Regions from separate parts of the Homo sapiens genome. Here all the other regions are linked to region 2. The links are contacts of gene promoters, found by promoter capture Hi-C in human tissues and cell types (Jung and others, 2019). All regions are on one chromosome and are shown on one strand. Each heading gives the region's core, a stretch centred on a gene start or on the middle of the fragment in contact. The rest is flanking DNA. Distances are from core to core; before and after follow the strand shown. Region 1 holds the start of ZMIZ2 (zinc finger MIZ-type containing 2). Region 2 holds the start of POLM (DNA polymerase mu). Region 3 holds the start of PPIA (peptidylprolyl isomerase A).

Region 1 (3,953 bases), core at 150-2,649, 670 kb before region 2:
AACAGCTGAAGGGACAACCTTAACCTGGCATCAGTTTACAATGTGTAAGATGGATATCTGGTAGCATCCTAGGACTGAGGACACATGACCACCTTCATGTCATCAGCCCTTGGGAGCTCAATCCCAATAATCAGGATGCTCCCCAAACATCTTAGGCCTGTCCTTCAGAAATCTACAACCGGCAACTGTCACCTGCTTGTTCTCTTCATTTACACTTCCAGCTTGTAACTATCCCCTGGGCATGACAAGGGCTAGAGGTCAGTACCTCTGGAAGTTAAGATTCCTTCACTTCTCCTGTTTCCACACTAAGCATCAAGGGATGCCCTCTGGTTCTAGCTTGCCAGAACTTGGTGGTGAGTCTGTGTCCATCCTATCCGTAATCACCACGGTCTCAGACCAAGTCACATGTTCCGTGTGTGTCCCTGTGAAATCTGCGATGACACAAATTAAAGACACCACCATGGATGTTCTGTAATACTGGAAAGAGGGTACCCTAGGGAGAAGGAGAGGCAGAACACTGCAGGGCAGAGGGTCCAGGGAATGGGAGGAGAGACACGGTAGGTGGAGGGGTAAACAAGGCACCGGGTGGGGGTGCCGCGGTGAAGGACACCTGGCACTAGGGAAGACAAGGCACCTCAGGGGAGCAGGGCATCCTCACGCCTGAGCTTCAGTATGTCCAGTTTGGAAAGGGGTGTCCCCATCAAAACTGGCAGCTGGGGGCTGGCCGCTCAGCGTCGTTCAGCCCAGGAGCGGAACAGCTCCTCCGCGAGCAGGTGACGGCCTCAGACGGCCCCCACATCGCCGTGCTGGTGGGCACGTAAGTAGGAGCGGAGGGGCGTACCATGTAGGTGAGACTGCCTGGCCCCAAAGCTAGGAACGATCAGGTTGGAGCGAAGGCCCGGCCAGCCTTCATCGCTCAGGAGAACCCCGAGCGCCGCTTACACCCCTCGGCCAGCCTCCAACAAAGACTCAGGGGAGGGCTGGATGACCCTGACGCCCACGGGGCCGAGCCTGCCCAAGACCACGACGCACGCGTGGCAGGTGCCGGCAGGTGGGCGGCAGAGCCTCTAGCCCCAGCCCAGCTGTGAACCCTACCGTGGCGCCGCAGCGGAACCGGGGCGCCCCGGGCGACCAGCTACACCTGCCTGCCCGCCCGCACCTGCCGGCCCGCACCTGCCGCACCTGCCTGCCCCCGCCGGCCCACACCTGCCTGCTGGCGGCGTTGCCAGGGGCCACCCCCAGGACCCCGCTCACCTCCGCCCGGCCTGGCCCGGCCCCTCGCCGTGGCGGCCCCCGGCCCGCGCCGCTCCATGCGCTCAGCCCGCCCTCCGCGCCGCCCGCCGCCCCGGGGCCGCCGCCACCCGCGCCATCGCGCCGCCGCCCGCTCCGAGGGCACAATGGAGCCGCCGCCGCGCCGCTCATGCATATGCATGACGCCGCGCAGCCGGCCCCGCCTCCCAGGCCAGAGCAGCAGAGCCCCGAGCCGGCGCTCGGGGCGGGGGCGGCCGCGAGCCCGAGCGGCCCAAAGCGGCAGGGTGGGGCCAGGGCCGCAGGTGGCTGGGCGGGCAGGAGACGCAGCCTGATCGCGACCTGCGCCCCCAGCCCCCTCCACACCTTTCTGAACGCGGCGTCGGCAGAGCCACTGCGCTCTTCCTGCTCGCAGTCCGCCGGGAGCGGGGCGGGGCCGGGCGGCGGAGGCGGGGCCAGGACGCCGGGGCGGGGCCGAGTGGAAGGCGGGGCCAAGGTGCCGGGGCGGGGTCGGGAGGAGGAGGCGGATCCAGAGAGCCGGGGTGGGGCCAGGGCTCGGGGCGGGCCCCGGCGGAGGAGGAAAGGAAGAGTGAGTCCTTGCCCTTCCCCCACCCGCCCCGCCCGCGCCCCGCCCGCGCCCCCCCTGCTTCCTGGGAGTCCATTGCTCTGGCCCGGCGGGCGGGGACACGACTGGGAGACAGAGAGACCCAGGGTGCCACTTTTGGGAGGGGATCTTATTAAAGGACTCCGGAAGCCCCTCGTTAAAGCAGAAAACTAAACTTAACAAGTTCGCTGTCCTCACTGCTCAGTTCTCTCTTCCCAGTGGTTCTCCTTCTGGAAAAAGTCACTATTGAGCTAGTCTAGCCTGATGGAATAGCCTCTCTGATCAGTTTCGATCTTTGAAATGCTATTATCAGCCTTTAAGTTATTCTTGACTTTTCCTACCGTAAGTTGAGGAAGACCACATTCTCTCAACTACCCATAATTAATTTTTCTTAATTGTGGTAAAATACACATAACGTAAAACTTACCATCTTAACTGTTTCCAAGTGTAGTTCTGTGGCACCAAGTACATTCACATTCTTGTGCAACCACCAACCGTCTCCAGGACTTTTTCATCTTCTCAAATGGAAACTCCATACCCAGTAAACACTAGCTCCCCATTCTTTCCTCCTCCTAGCCTTTGGCATTCACTATTCGTCTCTAAATTAGACTACTCTAAGGACATCGTATAAGTGGAATCATACATTATATGTCTTTTTGTGACAGTCTTACTTTAGTTAGCACAGTGTCCTCACTTCCATCCATGTTGTGGCATGTGTCAGAATTTCTTTCTTTCTTTCTTTCTTTCTTTCTTTCTTTCTTTCTTTCTTTCTTTCCTTTCTCTCTCTCTTTCTTTCTTTCTTTCTTTCCTTCCTTCTTTCCTTCCTTCTTCCCTCCCCTTCCCTTCCCTTCTTTTTTTTGACGGAGTCTCACTCTGTCGCCAGGCTGGAGTGCAGTGGTGCAATCTCGGCTCACTGCAACCTCCACCTCCCAGGTTCAAGCGATTCCCCTGCCTCAGCCTCCTGAGTAGCTGAGACTACAGGGGCACGCCACCACGCCTGGCTAATTTTTTTGTGTGTGTGTTTTAGTAGAGACGGGGTTCATCATGTTGGCCAGGATGGAATCGATCTCCTGACCTCGTGATCCGCCTGCCTGGGCCTCCCAAAGTGTTGGGATTACAGGCGTGAGCCACGGCGCCCAGCCCCTTCTTTCTTATGGCTGAATAATATTCCATTGTATGCATATTCCACATTTAAGTTATCCATTCATCTATCAATGGATACTCCACAATTAATTTTTGACATTGTTGAAATTTCTTCCCTGAAGGCCGCCTCTGAACTCTGTGCTCTATTTCTTTTGGGAATCATTCGTTCATTGAACAAATATGGCAGGCCTGCTGTACAACAGTCCCTGGTCTGGGGTCTGTGAACACTGGTCTGTCCCCAGGAACCAGGAGAATAAGGCCCCTCCATCCATACAGCAAGCATGTTAGAGGGGACAAACAGAAGGAAATGAGTTAACAGGTAACAGTGTGTCTGTCAGAAAGAGTGTTAGGAAGAAAACTAAATCAGGGCCAGAGAATGGGGAGGGAGTGATGAGGTATGAGGGACGGATTCTCTGTGGAGCTGGCCCTGAAGAAGAGACCCAAATGAAGGGGGAGGCAGGCACCAGGGGACCCTGACCATTCCTCTGTCTCGGAAGAGGCTGCATGTATGGGGGAGTTGCAGGCAGGTTTGTGGAGGATGCTGGAAGTGGCCACGCCAAGCATCCCAGGTGCCCCCAGGGCAGGCATCTCTCTCACCTCCTAACTGCTTCAATAATTCCTGCCCTGCTCCCCTGGGAAAGGCCACCTGGTGTCCACTCCTTTCTAGGGAATGTTTTCATTTTCTACTATATGATGAATTGTTAAGAAAGTCTTCCTTGAGGCCGGGCACAGTGGCTCACGCCTGTAATCCTAGCACTTTTGGAGGCCAAGATGGGTGGATCACCTGAGATCAGGAGTTCGAGACCAGCCTGGCCAACATGGTGAAACCCTGTCTCTACTAAAAAATACAAAAATTAGCCAGGCATGGTGGCGTGAAACCCTACTCTACTAAAAATACAAAAATTAGCCAGGTGTGGTGGCATGCACCTGTATTCCCAGCTATTCGGGAGGCGGAGGC
Region 2 (4,530 bases), core at 2,031-4,530:
CTTCCAGTGGGACACCCTCCCTCACCCCTCCTCCAGCAGGTATACCTCCCACATCCTCAAGCAGGGACCCCCTCCCCAACCATCCTCCAGCAGGGACACCCCCTCACCATGTTCTCCAGTGGGGGCACTGTTGCAGCAGAGAAAGTTTTGTAATTGCAGGGCCAGACAAGCAAGGAGGATGAAAGATAATTCTCAAAACCACCTCCCCCAGAATTCAGAGGCTAGTGTTTTTAAGGGTGCTTCAGCAAGCAGGGGACTAGGGAGCTGAGACAACTGATTGGCAGTGGATGAAATCACAGAGGTATCAAAACTATCTTCAAGCAGCTGAGTCAGTTTCTTGGTGTGGGTCACAGGTCCAGGTAGTGTCTCTTGGTCTGCTAAAATTCTAAATCTAGAAAATATCTCAAAGTTCTTTAGGTTTCATAATAGTGATTTTTTTTTTTTTTTTTTGAGACGGAGTCTTGCTCTGTCTCCCAGGCTGGAGTGCAGTGGCATGATCTCAGCTCACTGCAAACTCCACCTCCCAGCTTCAAGCAATTCTCCTGCCTCAGCCTCCTGAGTAGCTGGGATTACAGGCATGTGTCACCACTCCCAGCTAATTTTTTTGTATTTTTAGGGAGATAGAGTTTCACCATGTTGGCCAGGCTGGTCTCGAACTCCTGACCTCCAGTGATCCACCCGCCTTGGCCTCCGAAAGTGCTGGAATTACAGGTGTGAGCCACTGTGCCCGGCCTCTATATGAGCAGCTGGAGAAGTTAGAAATCTTGAGATTTCCGGCTATGTGACTCCAGGGCAGTAAGCATTATAGAAAAGCAAGCCAAGTGAGAAACGGCAGGTCGCTGTTTATGCCCATTCTTTAGCAAAGTTCAGGCCCCACCACAATTCTAACCTTGTCTTATGAATGTGGTTTCAATCTCCAAACAAGGAGGGGGTCAGTTTTTCTTGCCTTTAACTATGAACTAAATTCCTCTCATAGTTATGTTGGCCTCTGCACTACAAGAAGAAGAAGAAAAAAAAAGAAATAAGAAAACCAATTTAGTCTGTGAGGTTAGATGCAAGAGGGAGGCAGTCATGTTAGATTTCTCTCATGACTTACAATTCTGCAAAGGTGGTTTCACCTCCACGGCAGGCCACCTCTCCCTGGGTATAGGGCACATCTTCGTCCTGCAGAGCAGGCAAGTCCCTCTCTCTCCCCACCTCCTCACCCCTTCTTGCCCCCACTGGCCAATCTTCATGAATCCTTCAGCCCCATGTTGTCCTAGCAGACACTTTGCAGCAACCACTCAGAGGGCCTGGCTGATTTCTAAGCTAGGCAGTTTCTTCCACTGTCATTTGGATGAGATTCCTTGCACAAACATTTTTGCACAGTTGCCCAGTGTTTTAAGTATTCAGGTCTCATAGTCTTAAAAACTGCCTCTGCCTTCCCAGGAGAGAACAAGGGCTCCAAGGGGAGCCCAGGTGCTCTGGCCAGACAGAGGACATTAAAAGGAACAGAAATGGTTTTAGACAGCTAGAGGGATCTGCTCAGGGGATATTTGGGCAGAGCCTCCTCCTTGAGAAGGGTAGGAGCCAGATCCACAGACGAAGACCCTTAGAGCCTGCCCATCCCTGCTGGCACAAGGGGAGGATGGGGAGAGAGGGACCATACGCAGGCCTCCTGGCTTCTGTATGTGGGTCCTGAGGCCCAGGAAGCTCTACAGCCCTGAAGAGGTAGATGAATTAGGAGGCTGGGAGATGGTGTAGGAGGTCAAGAGGATGCCTGGGCTGAGCCATCTCCCCCACTCCCCTCAGCCCTGTGCTCTGAGTGCAGAGATGGGGAAGAGCCAGCCCACTAAAGATGTCAGAGAGGAGCCAAAGAAAAAGGATAGGTGCTCAAGGAGTCTGGGGCTCAAGACTGAGGACGATGGGGCAGTGATGAGGAGAGGCATGTGGAAGGGGGTTGCATCTGATCTGGTGTCCCATCAGTTAGGCTGAGCAGTGCCACACTACCGTAACAGAGGTTACAAATGGAGTATATCTAAATAAGATAGACAGAAGACTTGATATTATCAAGACATCAGATTTCCCCAGCTTGATCTATAGATTCAATGCAATCCCAATCTTGGGAAAGGAATTGCTGGATCAATGTGTATTATTTTGTTTTCATTTTGTTGGATGTGGTTGCCACATTGGCTTCCACAGTCCTTCCTATGGATTGCCAATTACCTCGCACCTTCAACATGTGTGGTCAATTTTTTTGAATGTTTGATAAACCCACAACTGAAGATATTCTCATTTAGGTATTCTGTAACGACTGGACAGGTTGGGCACTCTGGTCATAAATTTATTGACCAGGATTTCTTCTAAGAATCATCTACGTGAGTTTTTTTGCTAATTTTTCTATTAAATTATTGTCTTTTTATCTATGGACAATTTGATAAGATTATCATGAGATAATCTTAATTCCAAAATATCTCACACTTTATCCCAGTTTATCTTCTGACTCTAATTTTTAATCAGATTTAAAATTTGTCTGTAGTCCAGTTTATCATTCTTTTCCTTTAGTGTTTCCAAGTTTATTGTGATATTTAGATCATAAAAACATTCACCGACTTTTTTCCAGTACGTTGTTGGTTTCCTTTTTAGATGGAAATGTTTGACCCATCTGGAATTTATTTTGGTGTTAAGGAATGAGGAAGGGCACCAACTTCTATTTTTCCAAATGGCCTGCCAGTTGTCCTAATGCCATTCGACTGAAAAATCTTCCCGCGTGTTTGAAGCGACCGCCCCACCAGCGCATTGGAAACCCGCGTGTCGGTCCTGCGCCCGCCGGCTTCCGTGTGACAGTCCCGAGCGCAGAGGGATCGGGCACAGCCCGCACGCGTCCGCCCCGAGCCGCCGGCTCAACCCTAGACCCAGCCCCGGCGCCAAGGACACAGCCCACCCCGCTCCGCCCGGGCCTAGGTCCCAGTTCACCCTCCCTAGCCGGGGACGCCCCCTTGACCCCGCCTCCTCCACCCCCTCCAACACCCTCCCCGCCCCGCTCCAGCCCAGCCTCTCCTCCCGGAGGCCAATGGGGCCGAACAGCGCTTTCCGAGACATTAATTTAAATAAAAGGCGGGTCCTCTGCCGTTATTTGCATGGAGGCGGGTCTTCCGGAGCGGCCGGGACACCCAATCCTGTAGGAGCCCGGACCCTCCCCAGCGCTCCGACTGGCCCAAGTAGCGAGCCCCACGGAGAGGCCTCATTTGCATAGGGCGGGGCCACGTCCTCTTCCAGCCGGCGGCCGCCCGCCCGCCCACCCGCTTCCGTCAGCCTCACTGGGGCTTCCTTCCGTCTCGCTCGGAGTTTCCCTCTGCGTTCGCTCCGCGCTGCTGGAGGCTGTCGTCCCAATGCTCCCCAAACGGCGGCGAGCGCGGGTCGGGTCCCCTAGCGGCGATGCCGCTTCCTCCACGCCGCCCTCGACGCGCTTCCCGGGAGTCGCCATCTACCTGGTCGAGCCTCGCATGGGTCGCAGCCGCCGGGCCTTCCTCACAGGCCTGGCGCGCTCCAAAGGCTTCCGCGTCCTTGACGCCTGCAGGTGCGGGGCGGCGCGGCGCGGCGAGGGCTTCCATGGCACTTCTGGTTTTGGATTCTAAGTTTGCAGTGGCACTTCGTGGTCTTGTGACCTTTCCCTGAGCCTCCATCTCCTCTTCTGTAAAGGGTGCTATTAATTAGGGCGAGGCGTGTTTTAAAGGATCACTGCGAGAATCAAAACCAGAGGTCAGGGGTAATTAATAAGCAGTAGGCCGGGCGCGGTGGCTCACGCCTGTAATCCCAGCACTTTGGGAGGCCGAGGCGGGCAGATCACGAGGTCAGGAGATCGAGACCATCCTGGCTAACACGGTGAAACCCCGTCTCTACTAAAAATACAAAAAATTAACCGGAGGTGGTGGCGGGCACCTGTAGTCCCAGCTACTCGGGAGGCTGAGGCAGGAGAATGGCATGAACCTGGGAGGCGGAGCTTGCAGTGAGCCGAGATCGCGCCACTGCACTCCAGCCTGGGCGACAGAGTGAGACTCTGTCTCAAAAAAAAAAAAAAAAAAAGTCGTATTTGCTAACAGCCCTTCTGCCTGGGCTATGTCCCACCTGTGAGCGAGACTGACTTCTCAAGAGGCCCGGAGCCCGCAGGCTCCTCTGTCCTCAGGCCTGAGTAAATAACACGACTGAGAAGCTCTTGTAGGAAGGGAACCAAGAGAAGAAAAAATGGCGGCTACAGAGACAACACCCAGAGTAAGGGAGCTGGGGGTGCCCCCTAGTTTGGAGGTTGAGAGAGCAAACGAACCTGGGGCTAGTATTCCCCCACAGTTGTGTTTGATTTTTTAACATTACCAGGGATCAGTAGTGCGCCAGACCCACTCAGGAGAGGATGATAGCAGCTTAGAGTGTACAAGGCACTATCTTTGTACAACAACCCCACAGGGTGGATATGTTATCTCTGCTTTACAGAAGAGGAAATCAAAGTATAGACACGTGGCTTGCCCAAGAGCCAAACAAGTATGTGGCAGGCAG
Region 3 (4,475 bases), core at 1,948-4,447, 710 kb before region 2:
TACCACTCAGTCTTGGCAGTGCAGATGAAAAACTGGGAACCATTTGTGTTGGGTCCAGCATTTGCCATGGACAAGATGCCAGGACCCGTATGCTTTAGGATGAAGTTCTCATCTTCAAATTTCTCCCCATAGATGGACTTGCCACCAGTGCCATTATGGCGTGTGAAGTCACCACCCTGTCAACATATAGGAAAAATGTCACTTCTGACAACATAACCATGAAGTGTGCCAAATCTGCAAGGTTCAAACTTTAAACCCAAGTTCAAACTGAATAGAAGGGTTAAATAGAACCGAAATGGTAGAGTAACAGTTCAGATATGTGTATCCTGAAATATTCTGGCTCAATCCCAAATGAAGGGAGCAACCCAAATAAAATAAAATTCAGTAAATTTCGTACCTGACACATAAACCCTGGAATAATTCTGTGAAAGCAGGAACCCTTATAACCAAATCCTTTCTCTCCAGTGCTCAGAGCACGAAAATTTTCTGTTTAAAAAAAAATTAAACACATATATACATACATAAAAATATATATATACACACACACACACAAACTGTCACAATTGGAACATCTTTGTTAAACTTAGAAAATGGACCAACCTGCTGTCTTTGGGACCTTGTCTGCAAACAGCTGTAAGAGAAAATTACAGTTAATTAACATCTGCTTATTTTGTTGCTTAGTACCCATGTCTTTAGGGGCTTCTGAGTCATAAATTCATTTTCTCACTAGAATACTTCTTCAGTAATTACTTTAATTCCCAAGAACTGCTCCTGACAGCCATAAGGCCCTGCAGGCAGTTGGGTTAAGAAACATGAAACCCAAAGACATGCCAAAAATCCAATACTAGTCATAACTTAAATAGTGAGACTTCTAGAAAGTGTCTCAAACTTTTAGTACATCACACCTACTTCTGAAAAGATATATGGCTTCTTAAATGTCTATCACCACCCCCCAACTTGAGCTAGAACTTACAAGGCAAAATTCTAAGGAACAGCAAGCACTGCTGCACGATCAGGGGTAAACAGCTGTTCTTTTAGTCACTTGTAATGAAAATGCTACTACCTCCAATCTGTTAACATAGCTTTATGGATTAGATGAGCAGTCACTTCTTGGTATCCAGGCCCCTTACCTAGTAGTGGGGTAAAAAATAAAGATTGGTTTCTAGTATATCTGGTTTTGAACCTTTCTTGAATGTATAATACGTTATGGCTAGAGAGGTAGCTTAAATACCATAAACATTTACAAGCCCTTTCATAAAAACAGCTTGTTTAAAAGTAGCATTTTATAAGCTATTTCACAGATGTGACTGAATTAACTACTAGTATCCGTGTGCACTTCTCTTATAGCAATGTACTTTTTTTTTTTTGAGACAAGAGTCTCACTGTCACCAGGCTGGAGTGCAGTGGCACGATCTCGGCTCACTGCAGCCTCCGCCTCCGGGGTTCAAGCGATTCTCCTGCCTCAGCCTCTAGAGTAGCTGAGATTACAGGCAAGCGCCACCACGCCCAGCTAATTTTTGTATTTTTAATAGAGGTGGGGTTTCACCATGTTGGCCAGGACGGTCTCAATCTCCTGACTTCGTGATCCGCCCGCCTGGCCAACGTACTTATTTTTTAGTTTTTAGGTATTTGTACCTAGAATGTATGGTCTTTCTAAAACATCAGCTTTTCTCAGAGCTTTATAGTCGGTACGTTTAAGTTCCTATGGCTTCCCTTTCAGACTTTCGCTAAAGCCAAAGCCCTCATTGGCAGTTACCCCTCCATTCTCATCAAGACCTGCAAGTCCTTTCTCATTTCCCTGAAGCTCTTTGGGTAACCTGATGCCCAACATTAGGTCAGGCCAAGTTTCCACGAAAGCCCTTGTCACTTACCAGCTTTGACTACACTCATAGGTGGGGTGGGGTGTGGATTAACATGCAGTGTTTCAGTGCCTATGTGCCAGGCACTATGGACAGGGTAGGCAACAAGGAAATCGCTCTGTCCTCACGAAGACTGCATGAGGATCAATCTATTTTCGGAATAAGATCCCAAACTAGCCATTGGTGGCCTTTTGAGATGTGATTTAAAGGAATAAAACCACTAACATCCTATTTCGCTACTCCCTAAGGTCTATCCATGTTAACTGGAACGGAATCGTACTCAATATTTAACTTTGAAGACACGCGCCAAGTTTAGATACTATGCTATAATTACAACTGATCTTTAAGAACTCATTTAACGCTCTCAAAACTAATTAGGTAATCACTGGTAATCCACCTTGGTCGGAAGAGGCCTGCCTTGTGGCCAGTCGCAACTTGCTTGCTAGGCAGAGGGACAATCGGGAGGGGCTCAAGAGCGCCTCCCCCGCCAGCGCCGTCACTGCAGTGGAAGGCGGTCCTTGGGCACCAGCAAAGGCAAGGCCCATTTTCACATTTCCGCTTGGGGGTGGGGGACACGGAGGGACGTTTGGGGCACATGTATAAATATTCCTACTTTATCCAAATGGAAGATATTTCAAGTGGCAACCCGTCACATCCCAGCAAGTCTCCTTTTATAACATGGCCTCCCGGGATCTACAGGACCGAGCATGGACGGGCTCACACCGCGCCTCGATCCTTGAGAAAAACCCTCAAGCAAACAGCTTCCCAGCTCAGGATGTAAAGCACCCATGCCTGCCAGGGGACAGCTTCCCAGGAAGGCGGTCGCAAGCCCCCGCGAGCGTGCTTCTGGCTCCGGTCTGCGGCGCCCAGGCCAAGCTAGGGCGGAGCCCAACGACTCTCAAGGCGCGGACCTGAGCGCGGCCGCCGAGCACGTGCGTCGGACAGGACAGGGCGCGGCCACATGAGGCGGGCGGGCGGACGCGGGCCCCCTCCCCCAACGGCCTCGCAGCCGCCCCGCCTGCCTTTGTCCGCCGCCGTCCCGGCCTCCTCCCCGCGACTCGCGGACCTCCCAAAATGGCCCCTCGTCAGGAAATGGCGCCGCAGCCCGCCCGCGCTCGCCCCTCAAGCAGGGTCGCCCCGCGCCCGGGCCTTTGGGGCGCTACCACCCACCCCGACCCCGGCCCACTTTCTGGGCCCCATTCCCGCACGCCGCCGCCCGCCCGACCTCAAAGGAGACGCGGCCCAAGGGCTCGCCGTCGACGGCAATGTCGAAGAACACGGTGGGGTTGACCATGGCTAATAGTACACGGTTTTCCTCGGCGGTGGCGTCTGCAAAACGGCACGAGCCTGGCCTCCCGCCCCTTTTATACCACGTTCGGCCCCGCCCGCAACCCGGTCTCGCGCCTCCGTCCCGGCCAATCGGGTCTGCGACTTCGCCAGAGTGACAGTGCATCTGGCCTATAGACGGAAGCCGGCGCTGATGGGGACGACACATGAGGCGCGCGTGCGCGCTAACGCGCGGAGGCAGGTTCCCGCCTGCGGGCTCCGTCGCGGTGGCTGCGGCATGGGACTCGGGGCGGGGCGGCAGTACGGGACGCGGGGCACGGGGGAGGGTCAGTGCGGAACGGGGGTGGGCAGCATGGCGCGCGCACGCGGGAGACGGAAGCGCGGCGGCTCTTCGGCCGTTGTCAAGCGATGAGGCGCGTCTCCCCATTGCACAGAGGGGGCAACTGAGGCGAACGCAGGCCTCAAGGTCGCGCCGCCAGTCAAGGTCGACTGGGGTCCCGCGCCCGGACCCTACGCCTCCGCGAGCGGAAATGGGGATGGCGCGTCCCCGAGACCTAGGAGCAGCCTTGCGTCCGCATTCCGCGCGGGCAAACACCACGTCGCGTCCTACCAGGCAATGTCAGGAAGGAGGTTGCCTTTGAGCATCGCTGTTTTCTCTAACGAGGTGGGACAGGAGCAGTCTCCGGTTTTGAGAGATTATGAAATGCTTTCAAAATGCTCTACTTTCCGAAAATATCTTACACTCTGCTTGAATCTTCTTCAGGAGGAAGCCATTAAAACAGGAGCCTGGCCAGGCTCTTACCTGTGAAGATGCATTATGCACATTTTGCCCTCTTACTCTTTTTGAATCTCTGCTCCTGGTCTTTCCCTGCCCCCGCCCCGCCCAGCTCCTACCGCCCCCGCCTCGGGGCTGAATTGTGCTTTGATTTTTGGGTGAAAGATAAGTCACAATTTAAAAGCGAATTTCTTCAGGCAAAGACATTAATAATACTTTAATTAAAATGCACTTGTAGGCCAGGCGCGGTGGCTCATACCTGGCGCTTTAGGAGGCGCGGAGGCCAAGGCCGGGGAGGATCGCTTCATCTTAGGAGTTCGACACCGGCCACCAGCCTGGGCATCTTAGAGAGACGCCGTCTCTACAAAAAAATAAATAAAAATAAAAATTAGCTGGGCGTCGAGGCGCTCGCTACTCAGGAGGCTGGGCGGGGAGGATTGCTTGAGCCCGGAGGTCGAGGCTGTAGTGGGCGGTGATCGCATCACTGCATTCCAGCCGGGACGACAGAGTGTGACCCTCTCTCAAAAAATAGGCCGGGTGCGGTGGATCACGCC

What was found. The method cuts DNA at HindIII sites, captures the fragments that hold promoters and counts their contacts. A contact is called where the count stands out against the background at its distance.
Region 1: the fragment with the promoter of ZMIZ2 here is called in contact with the fragment with the promoter of POLM in region 2 in 3 of the 25 tissues and cell types used here (adrenal gland, heart left ventricle and spleen).
Region 3: the fragment with the promoter of PPIA here is called in contact with the fragment with the promoter of POLM in region 2 in 1 of the 25 tissues and cell types used here (spleen).

The regions. Positions count from the first base shown.
Region 1 is chr7:44,746,293-44,750,245 of GRCh38, reverse strand. It overlaps ZMIZ2 (zinc finger MIZ-type containing 2), which reads right to left and starts at 1,399. Exons shown (of 19, transcript NM_031449.4): 1 at 1,255-1,399. RefSeq lists silencers at 1,095-1,144, 1,155-1,264, 1,375-1,904. The HindIII fragment of the contact is 31,122 bases long and covers 1-3,953 here.
Region 2 is chr7:44,081,280-44,085,809 of GRCh38, reverse strand. It overlaps POLM (DNA polymerase mu), which reads left to right and starts at 3,280. Exons shown (of 11, transcript NM_013284.4): 1 at 3,280-3,559. The coding sequence starts at 3,372. RefSeq lists a silencer at 2,715-3,294 and an enhancer at 3,006-3,506. The HindIII fragment of the contact is 16,372 bases long and covers 1-4,530 here.
Region 3 is chr7:44,795,403-44,799,877 of GRCh38, reverse strand. PPIA (peptidylprolyl isomerase A) reads right to left here and starts at 3,197. Exons shown (of 5, transcript NM_021130.5): 1 at 3,085-3,197; 2 at 601-631; 3 at 398-486; 4 at 4-176. The coding sequence starts at 3,153. LOC105375259 (a long non-coding RNA gene) reads left to right here and starts at 3,348. Exons shown (of 2, transcript XR_007060300.1): 1 at 3,348-3,810; 2 at 4,454-4,475. RefSeq lists silencers at 2,727-3,076, 3,097-3,366, 3,457-3,656. The HindIII fragment of the contact is 11,905 bases long and covers 1-4,475 here.